Linked DNA regions of Homo sapiens: region 2 is linked to region 1. The links are contacts of gene promoters, found by promoter capture Hi-C in human tissues and cell types (Jung and others, 2019). All regions are on one chromosome and are shown on one strand. The core of a region is centred on a gene start or on the middle of the fragment in contact, and the rest is flanking DNA. Distances in the headings are between cores, read along the strand shown.

The links. Contacts are between HindIII fragments. The study calls those that stand out against the background at their distance.
Region 2: a contact is called between a fragment that was not itself captured here and the fragment with the promoter of CRYL1 in region 1, in 1 of the 25 tissues and cell types used here (H1 embryonic stem cells).

Annotation. Positions count from the first base shown.
Region 1 is chr13:20,522,122-20,527,523 of GRCh38, forward strand. It overlaps CRYL1 (crystallin lambda 1), which reads right to left and starts at 3,736. Exons shown (of 8, transcript NM_015974.3): 1 at 3,633-3,736. The coding sequence starts at 3,673. RefSeq lists a silencer at 3,412-3,961 and an enhancer at 4,142-4,251. The HindIII fragment of the contact is 16,444 bases long and covers 1-5,402 here.
Region 2 is chr13:20,574,534-20,579,761 of GRCh38, forward strand. The region is part of intron 2 of IFT88 (intraflagellar transport 88); the gene reads left to right. Among named protein-coding and RNA genes, the nearest start is that of IFT88, 10 kb to the left of the region's middle. The HindIII fragment of the contact is 4,952 bases long and covers 553-5,228 here.

The DNA.
Region 1 (5,402 bases), core at 2,486-4,985:
GGCGGATCAGTTGAGGCCAGGAGTTCGAGACCAGCCTGGGCAACATGGAGAAACCCTGTCTCTACTAAAAATACGAAAATTAGCCAGCAATGGTGGTTCGTGCCTGTAGTCCCAACTACTTGGGAGGCTGAGGCAGGAGAATTGCTTGAATCCAGAAGGCAGAGGTTGCAGTGAGCTGAGATGGTGCCACTGCACTTCAGCCTGAGCCTGACAGAGCAAGAATCCGTCTCAAAAAAAAAAAGTACAATCACCCCAAACAAAATTTTGGAATTAAAAAAAATGAAGGAGACTGTAGTTTATAGGATACCTTTCTTTCTTGCCTTTCTAGTTTATGGGATGTTTTTCTTGATATAAAACAACGTCCTACCAAGCCCTTCATAGGGCACATCAGTTAAAAAATAAGCAGTCTCTGTTACAAACGCTCAACTATCTGTCTATTGGGACCACGCATGGTGGATACAAATGGCAACAATACAGTTTCTATCCTTAGGGGAAAGGCCCAGAAGCAGAACTTTTCCTGGAGGAGACAGTCCCTGAGCTTGATCCTGAAAGAGTGTGCCCCCTAAAAAGCAGGACAGGAGAAAGGGCATGCCCTGCACCAGGAACATTTTGTGTTCCTATTCTAAACAAGCTCAAGGGCTACAAGCTGAATCTTGCAGTGTGTATACAAATACAGAACTCATATTTTAGCGATTTAGAAACACAGTGTTTTATAAAGGTAAGGCTAACAAAATGAAAGCCTTAGAACACTACTCCAATGCAAATTTATCTTCATGATACCCATTTCTACTTTTTTTTTTTTTTTTTTTTTTTTGAGATGGAGTCTCACTCTATCCCCCAGCTGGAGTGCAGTGGTGTGATCTTGGCTCACTGAAACCTCCGCCTCCTGAGTTCAAGCGATTCTCCTGACTCAGCCTCCTGAGTAGCTGGGATTACAGGCATGCACCACCACGCCCGGCTAATTTTTGTATTTTTAGTAGAGACGGGATCTCGCCATGTTGGCCAGACTGGTCTCGAACCCCTGACCTCAGGTGATCTGCCCTCCTAGGCCTCCCAAAGTGCTGAGATTACAGGCATGAGCCACCATGCCTGGACTTCTACTCCCATTTTTAAAAGTTATCACTACCAGATTTTCCTGCAGCCCTAGGCCCAAAAGAGTTTCTCTCATCCTCTTTCAAGCCCTCCCCATTCTGAAGGGACTTGCCCTGGATGTTTATAGGACAGCTAAGTGGCCCTAAGGAAGAGTGAACTTTGGAAAAAGATCAGCGGAAAAGAATTAAGTGGGACTGTATTCCTAGCAGGTACTTTCAAGATGAAATCTATAAACTGATAAGGAAAGCTGAAAACACAATATGCTCCTGAAATTGAAATATGTATATTTTGGTCTGTTGAAACCTAAGAATGAAACTGAACCAGGTTTTGGCAAATTAATTGACATTCCCCAAGCCCTATTTGTTAAGTGGGTGTTCCTTGGAATCACCTGTGGGGCCAGGAAAGAAATAGAGGGACGAGAAAGAAGGGTGGTAAAGAGGAAGGGAAGAAACCAGCACTGTCCCAGAGGCAGAGCTGGGTGTGTGCTGAAGTGCTGAGGGTGGGGGAAAGACAAGATTTTCACACCAGAAAACAAAGAAACAAGCAGAGGCCCCAGAGAATTATGTGGTCCTTAAAGTTTGGAAGCCTTTCTCTAATTCCTTATCAACATCCCTCAAGGAATCAGAAGTAAACTGTTAACTGAAGCTCCTCCTCAGTAGACTGAGCCACCCACAGCCAGATAACTGCACAATCAACTAAAACTTTACTTCACATGTATTAGGTGCATGCATAACACTACTCCAAGGCATGATGGACCTATACAAGGCCAAGCAAGGTGGCTCACAACTGTAACCCCAACACTTTGGGAGGCCAAAGCGCTTGCACCCAGGAGTTCAAGACCAACCAGGGCAAGATGGTGAGACCCCATCTCTACCTAAAAATTTTAAAAATCAGCCGGGTATGGTGACACATGCCTGCTGTGGGAGGATGGCTTGAGCCCGGAAGGTGGAGATCCACCATGATAGTGCCACTGCACTCCAGCCTGGGCGACAGAGCGAGACCCTATCCTATTAAAATTGTGTGTGTGTGCGCGTGCGCGCACGCATGCGTGTAAAAACTGTGTGTGTATATATATGTGTGAGTGTATATATATACACACACACATAAACTCTGGTAACTATTAATAAAATGCAAGACAGAGGTAACTACCACCACTGGTACAAAGTGCACTTTTTTTTTTTCAGACGGAGTTTCGCTCTTATTGCCCAGACTGGAGTGCAATGGCACCATCTCGGCTCACCGCAACCTCCGCCTCCCGGGTTCAAAGGATTCTCCTGCCTCAGCCTCCCGAGTAGCTGGGACTACAGGCATGTGCCACTACGCCCGGCTAATTTTGTATTTTTAGTAGAGACGGAGTTTCTCCATATTGGTCAGGCTGGTCTCGAACTCCCGACCTCAGATGATCCGCCTGCCTCGGCCTCCCAACGTGCTGGGATTACAGGGGTGAGCCACCGCGCGCGGCCCAAAGTGCACTTTTTAATATGCCTTCACTATTCAACCACGGGCACTCATGGGCCAGAAAGAACAAAGGCACAGTTAACTCCACTGCTCTGGAGAAAAGAAAGCTGACAACAAGGAATCTGATGCCTTCCTTCAGTGGGAAGGAAACACCCTGACATTGGAAGTGGTCTCCACACCGGGTTGTACACTGATGGGGGGCGGAGTCGGGGGCAGGCCAACACCTCAACAGCAGTCACCAAAAAGGTGCTTTTAACTATCAATAGCAAGTATTAACATGTTTATAGATTGCTGCTAACAGCTGGCCAAAGAAAGGTACATACAAATGCCCCTTTTTAAAAAACAAAAATAGCAAGGATTGTAACCGTAGGGGTGGGGGGCGGGGTGGGGGAAGCACACACTAAAAATCAGTTTGGGCAGAATTTAAGCTGTTAAATGGACACACTTAGCAAACTCTCTGGGCTCCATCGGCCCCCACCTCCCCTCTGGAAACATCGCCTCGCCCAGGAATTAGGACTGCGTGTATGTTCGCCTAACACCTGCTGCGGCCTCCAGCGACATCGTCGCCGACAGGACTGCGCTGGCACCCTCCCTGCTGGGCTAGTCCTGTCTCCGTCACTAAACGCCTGTGACCTTAGGTAAACTGCTTAGTCTCAGTATTCTCATTCGTAAAATGGGGATGAGAACACAGTCGTCGCAGGATCGCAGCCAGAATTCGTTTCATTCAACACGGTGCCTGGCACTTCTATGTGGACCTGCGGGCAGACGCGGCGACATTCAACAGAGTCCAGGAACCGCAGGCCCCGCGGCCTGGGCGGTCAACCTCGGAACCTCCTGCAACGCTGGCTCCCGGGAAGCAGACCCAACTCCGCGGGGCGCCTCCACCTGCCAAGCCCCTCCAGCCGCGCCTCTCCCCGAGCCCGCCAGCGCCGTAGGGGCCGCAGGGCGCAGGGCTTCGGAGGACCGGAGGCCGGGGCGGGGACAGCGACCCGGCGCCCACCCCGAGGGCCCCACGCGAGGGCACCACGTCCCCGGCGTCTCCCCGGGCTCCAGGGGCAGCAGCGCGGCTCGGAGCCCTTTACCTGCCAACGATCACCACGCAGCCGGCCGCGGAGGACGCCATGGTTGGGCCGGGGACGCGGCGCCGCGGGCGCTGGGACCAGGCGCCGGCGGAGCTGCGAGCTCTGGGCTCCGGGGAGGGCGGGTCCCGCGCCCATTGGCTGCGCGCGCGGACCGGGAGGGCGGGGAGGGCCGCTTGGTCCCTGAGTGGGGTGCGCGCCGCGGGCCCGAGACACCGGGAGACACACGGCGCGCCGACCCTCGTGGGCAGGGGCAGGACCAGCGCGGGGGCACGTCGGGGGGTGGAAAGCGGGAAGACCACGCGCTTGTGACTGTCAGCATTCACCGTGAAGTCCGTGTCTATAGGAGGGGACACGGGCAGGCTGGCACGGGCTCTAGCGCTAAAGCACCCTAGAGAAACTGTCAGAGAATGTCCCCTTTGCTAATTCGTCTCTGAAAGACGCCTGCCGCTGCCGCCAACTGCGAACTGGGCGCAGGGACTGCGACAGCAGTGAAAGAGAACACCTGATGCGTTCATCTGCGCTACGGAAGGACACGTCTGAATTCCTCCACGGAGCACACTCTGCACTCGGTTTATGTATCAGAAAAAGGAAATGCCCTCGTGCCCTGACTCCTGGCCTTCTTGGAGCCCGGAACAGACCAAGAGGAAGGGGCATCACACATTGCCTGACAGTGGTGTGCGTCCACACAGCACAAGCTGAACGGGAAATGACACAGTCATTAGACAGAGGAGACAGTACTCAAGCTGGAACCGCAGCCAACACTGAGATGATAAAAGGAAGTCTTCCTTTGTTTCCCCTGAGTCAGGAACGTGGAAAGAGAAATCTCAGGGGAGGGGTTAGGTTTTTTTGTTTTGTTTTGTTTTTTAAAGAACAGTTTCACAAATTATCGATAAATATTTGTAAAGTATTCAACCTCAAGAGAAATGAAAAGTAACACAAGGAAGATAAGTCATCTCTCACTCATCAGATTGGCTAAGTCACATGGATTGATTATATTCCCATATCCGTAATGGAGTGTTTCGGACATGCAACTTACACACAGTAGAAGGCAAGCTTAAATGTTGAGGACTTTTTGGAGGGAATGTTACAGTACATTGTTGAGACAGCCGCTAGCCTGAGCAACCGCGCCTGCTCTGGCTGAGAATACAAGGCTCCAAAGCTTCCATCTTCTGATGGAGCAGTTTCTGTAGTCAGTTACACAGGCAGCCAATATAATAATCAAGGCACCCAGGGAGTGAGCATCCTGTGACTGCTCACTACCGGAGGCTATGGGGGCAGCAGACTGGCTTGTTTGCTGCTCCCTGCAAAGTCATGCCTGAAATCCCAGCGCTTTGGGAAGCTGAGTAGTAAATAATAGCTTGAGGCCAGGAGTTCAAGACCAGCCTGGGCAACAAAGCGAGACCCCTGTCTCTACCAAAAAATTAAAAAACTTATCCAGGCTGGTGCCGCCTGTAGTCTCAGCTACTCAGTAGGCTGAGGCAGGAGGATTGCTTGAAGCCAGGAGTTTGAGACCAGCCTGTGCGAGATAGTGAGAACCCCCCCCCCCGCATCTCTAGTGTGTGTGTATATATATGTGTGTGTGTGTGTGTGTGTGTGTGTGTTTATATATTTATTTATTTATGTGTACATATATTTATAACTTTAATCCTTCTGGTACCAAACAAAAAAAATACAGATTTATTTAAATTAGCCAGGTGTGGTGGTGCATTCCTGTAGTCCCAGCTACTCAGGAGGATCTCTTGAGCCCTGGAGTTCAAGGCTGCAGTGAGC
Region 2 (5,228 bases), core at 1,779-4,278, 52 kb after region 1:
CTGTGGATTTGAGAGTTCTACTTTATTATGCTTTAGATTAAATAAGCTGATTCAAAAACCTAGAAAAGTGCTATTACAGAAGACTCTACTGACTTCCACCAAAAATAATAATTGCAGCAGAAGGAAAGATCATGAGACAGGTTACAAAAATGAATTAAGGTGAATTATATATACTTGTATTCTTCAGCACTAGCTATCCAAATGTGTAAAAGACTTAGATCACCTGAAAGTATTTAAAATTAGGGTTTTAAGAAAAATTTTAAAGTTGAAATGTCTTGTTTTTTGGTTTTAATTTTTGTGAGTACATAGTAGGTGCATATATTTATGGGGAATATGGGATATTTTGATACAGGCATACAATGTGTAATAATCACATAAGGGTAAATAGGGTTTCTGTTACATCAAGCATTTATCCTTTGTGTTCCAAACAATCCGATTATATTCTTTTAGTTATTTTTAAATGTACAATTAAATTATTGACTATAGTCACCCCATTTTGCTATCAAATACTAGATCTTACGCTTTCTTTTTGTTTTTTTTTTTGTACCTATTAACCATTCTCACCCCCTCCCCTGCCACTACCCTTCCCAGCCTCTGGTAATCATCCTTCTATTCTTTATCTCCTTGAGTTCAGTTGTTTTAATTTTTAGATCCCAGAAATAAGTGAAAACATGCGATGTTTGTCTTTCTGTGCCTGGCTTATTTCACTTAATAGAATGGCCTCCAGTTCCATCCACATTATTGCAAATGACAGGATCTCATTCTTTTTTATGGCTAGTTTTCCATTGTATATATGTACATTTTCTTTATCCATTTGTCTGTTGACAGACACTTAGGTTGCTTCCAAATCTTGGCTATTGTGAATACTGCTGCAGCAAACATGGGAGTGCAGATATCTTTTTGATATACTGTGATAGAGTTTGTATATTTATCCCCACGCACATCTCATGTTGAATTGTAATACCCAGCATTGGAGGTGAGACCTGGTGGGAGGCGATAGGATCATGAGAGTGGATTTCTCATGAATGGTTTAGCATGATCTTCTTGGTGCCATCCTCACCCCATGTGATGTGACTGCTCCCATTTTGCCTTCTGTCATGAGTGAAAGCTCCCTGAGGCCTCCCCAGAAACTGAGCAGATACTGATATCATGCTTGTACAGCCTGCAGAACGATGAGCCAATCAAACCTCTTTTCTTTATAAATTACCCAATCTCAAGCATTCTCTGGTGCAAAAGTAACTGCAGTTTTTGCCATTTTAATTGCAAAACTGCAATTACTTTGGCGCCAACCTAATAGCAATGCAAGAACGGCCTGGTACATACTGATTTCTTTTCGTTTGAGTATATTCCTAGCAGTGGGATTGTTGGATCATATGATAGATCTATTTTTAGTTTTTTGAGGAACCTCTAAACTGTTCTCCATAGTAGTTGTACTAATTTACATTCTCACTAACAGTATATGAGGGTTCCCTTTTCTCCACATTCTCACCACCATTTGTTATTACCTGTCTTTTGGATAAAAGCCATTTTAACTGGAATGAGATGACATCTCGTTGTAGTTTTGATTTCCATTTCTCTGATGGTCAATAATGTTGAGCACTTTTTCATATACATGCTTGCCATTTGTATGTCTTCTTTTTAGAAATATCTATTCAGATCTTTTGCCCATTTTTAAATCAGATTATTAGATTTTTTCCTACAGAGTTGTTTGAGTTCCTTACATATTCTGGTTATTAATCCCTTGTCAGAGGGATAGTTTATAAATATTTTCTCCCATTCTGTGGGTTGTCTCTTCACTTCATTGTTTCCTTTGTCGTGCAGAAGCTTTTTAACTTGATGTGATCTCATTTGTCCATTTTTGCTTTGATTGCCTGTGCTTGTGGGGTATTACTCAATAAATCTTTGCCCAGTCCAGTGTCCTGGAGAGTTTCCCTAGTGTTTTCTTTTAGTAGTTTCATAGTTTGAGGTCTTAGATTTCTAAGTCCTTCATCCATTTTTATTTGATTTTTGCATATGGTGAGAGATAAGGGTCTAGTTTCATTCTTCTGCATGTGGATATTCAATTTTCTCAGCACCATTTATTGAAGAGAATGTCTTTTCCCTAATGTATGTTTCTGGCACCTTTGTCAAAAATGAGTTCACTGTAGATGTCTAGATTTGTTTCTGGGTTCTCTATTCTGTTCCATTAGTCTGTCTGTTTTTATGCCAGTATCATGCTGTTTTGGTTACTATAGCTCTATAGTGTAATTTGAAGTCAGGTAATGTAATTCTTCAGTTTTGTTCTTTTTGCTCAGGACAGCTTTGGCTATTCTGGGTCTTTTGTAGTTCTATATAGACTTTAGGATGTTTTCTTCTGTTTCTGTGAATAATGACATTGGTATTTTGATAGGTGTTGCACCGAATCTGTAGATTACTTTGGGTAGTATGGACATTTTAACAATATTGGTTTTTCCAATCTATGAACATGAAACATCTTTCCATTTTCTTATGTCCTCTTCAGTTTCTTGCACCAATGTTTTATAGGTTTCATTGTAGATATTTTCACTTCTTTGGTTAAGTTAATTTCTAGATATTTAATTTTATTCGTAGATATTCTAAATGGGATTACTTTCGTGATTTATTTTCCAGATTGTTCACTTTTGACATATAGAAATGCTACTGATTTTTGTAGGTTGATTTTGTATCCTGCAACCTTACTGAATTTATCAGTTCTAATAGTTTTTTGGTGGAGTCTTTATGTTTTTCCAAATATAAGATCATATCATCTATAAACTAGGGTAATTTGACTTTTTCCTTTCTGGTTTGGATGCCCTTTATTTCTTTCTCTTGCCTGATTGCACTAGCTAGGATTTCCAGTACTATGTTGAATAACAGTGGTGACAGTGGTCATCCTTGGCATGTTCCAGATCTTAAAGGAAAGGCTTTCAGTTTTTTTTCATTCAGTATATTAGTTGTGAGTCTGTTACATGACTTTTTTCACGTTGAGGTATGTTTCTTCTATACACAGTTTTTTTTTAGGGTTTTTATGAAGGGATGTTGAATTTTACCTAATGCTTTTTCAGCATCAGTTGAAATGATCATGTGGTTTTTGTTCTTTATTCTGTCGATATGATGTATTACATTGATTGATTTGCATAAGTTGAACCATCCTTGCATCCCTGGGCTAAATCCCACTTGGTGATGATGAATGATCTTTCTAATGTATTGTTGGATTTGGTTTGCTAGTGTTTTATTGAGGATTTTTGCATCAATGTTCATCAGGGATGTTGGTCTATAATTTTCTTTCTTTGATGCATCTTTGTCAGGTTTTGGTATCGGTAATACTGGCCTTATAGAATGAGTTTGGAAGTATTTCCTCTTTCTCTGTTTTTTGGAGTAATTTGAGTAGGATTTATATTAGTTCTTCTTTAAATGTCTGGTAAAATTCAGCAGTGAAGCCATCAGGTGCCGAGCTTTTCTTTGCTGGGAGACTTTTTATTGTGGCTTCAGTCTTGTTACTTCTTTTTTTTTTTTTTTTTTTTTTTTTTTTCAGATGGAGTCTCACTCTGTAGCCCAGGCTGGAGTGCAGTGGTGCAATCTCAGCTCACTGCAAGCTCTGCCTCCCAGGTTCACGCCATCCTCTTGCCTCAGCCTCCCGAGTAGCTGGGACCACAGGTGCCTGCCACCACGCCTGGCTAATTTTTTGTATTTTTTTTAGTAGAGACAGAGTTTCACCGTGTTAGCCAGGATGGTCTCGATCTCCTGACCTCATGATCAGCCCGCCTCGGCCTCCCAAAGTGCTGGGATTACAGGCGTGAGTCATTGAGCCTGGCCCAGTCTTGTTACTTTTTTTTTTTTTTTTTTTTTTTCAGTCTTGTTACTTCTTATTGGTCTGTTCAGGTTTTGGATTTCTTCATGGTTCAATCTTGGTAGGTTGTATATGTCTAGGAATTTATCTCTTTCTTCTAGGTTTTCAATTTATTGGTATATAGGTGCTCATAGTAGCTTCTAATGATCCTTCAAATTTCTGGTTTTGTTGTAGTTGTTGTTGTTTGAGACAGAGTCTCGCTCTGGTTGCCCAGGCTGGAGTGAAATGGTGCAATCTCAGCTCACTGCAACCTCTGCTTCCTGGGTTCAAGTGATTCTCCTGCCTCAGCCTCCCAAGTAGCTGGGATTACAGGCATGTGCCACCACGCCCGGCTAATGATGTATTTTTAGTAGAGATGAGGTTTTACCATGTTGGTTCGGCTGGTCTTGAACTGCTGACCTCAGAAGATCTGCCTGCCTAGGCCTCCCAAAGTGCTGGGATTACAGGTGTGAGCCACCGCATCCAGCCGATCCTTCACATTTCTATGGTATCAGTTGTAATGTCCCTTTTTTATCTCTGATTTTACTTATTTTGGTCTTCTCTCTTTCTTTGTAGTTAGTCTGGCTAACGGTTTGTCAATTTTATCTTTTCACAAAACCAACTTTTTGTTTTGTTGATCTTTTGTATTGTTGTCTTTGATTCATTTTCATTTATTCTGCTCTGATATTTATTATTTTCTTTGGGTTTGGTTTGCTTTGCTTTTCTAGTTCGAGATGCATCATTAGGTTATTTGAAGTTTTTCTTCTTTTTTGATGTAAACACTTATAACTATAAACTTCTCTCTTAATACTGTTTTCACTGTATCCCACAGCTTTTGGTGAAACCAGCCAGGCTTGTATCCTTCCCTTAAGTCAACCAGTTCCCCTGGGCCCTGGGTGGGTCCAGAGATGCTGTCTGGGAGCCAGGGCCTGGAGTCAGAATCCTTAGAAATTTGCTTGGTGCTCTATTCTTCTGCTGCTGCTGAGCTGGCACTGAACCGTAAGACAAAGTCCTTTCCACTCTTTCCACCCTTTTCCCCAGGCAGCAGATTCTCTCCTGTGTCTGTCACCACAACAGACCCGCAGAGAGTACTACCAGGGTATCGCCAATGTTTACTTAAGGCCCAAGGGCTATTCCTTCAGGTTTTGGTGAATTCTGCCAGGCCTGGGACTCACCCTTCAAGGCAGTGGGTGTCCCTCTGGCTCAGGGTAGGTCCAGAAATGCTACCCAAGAGCCAAGGCCTGGAATCAGGGACCCTAAGAACCCACTTGATGCTCTAACCCACTGTGGCTGAGCTGATACCTAAGTTGCAAGACAAAGTCCCCTTTACTCTCCCCTCTTCTCATCTCAAACAGAAGCAGTCTCTCTTTGTAGCCACCACAGCTGTGAATGTGCTGGGTCA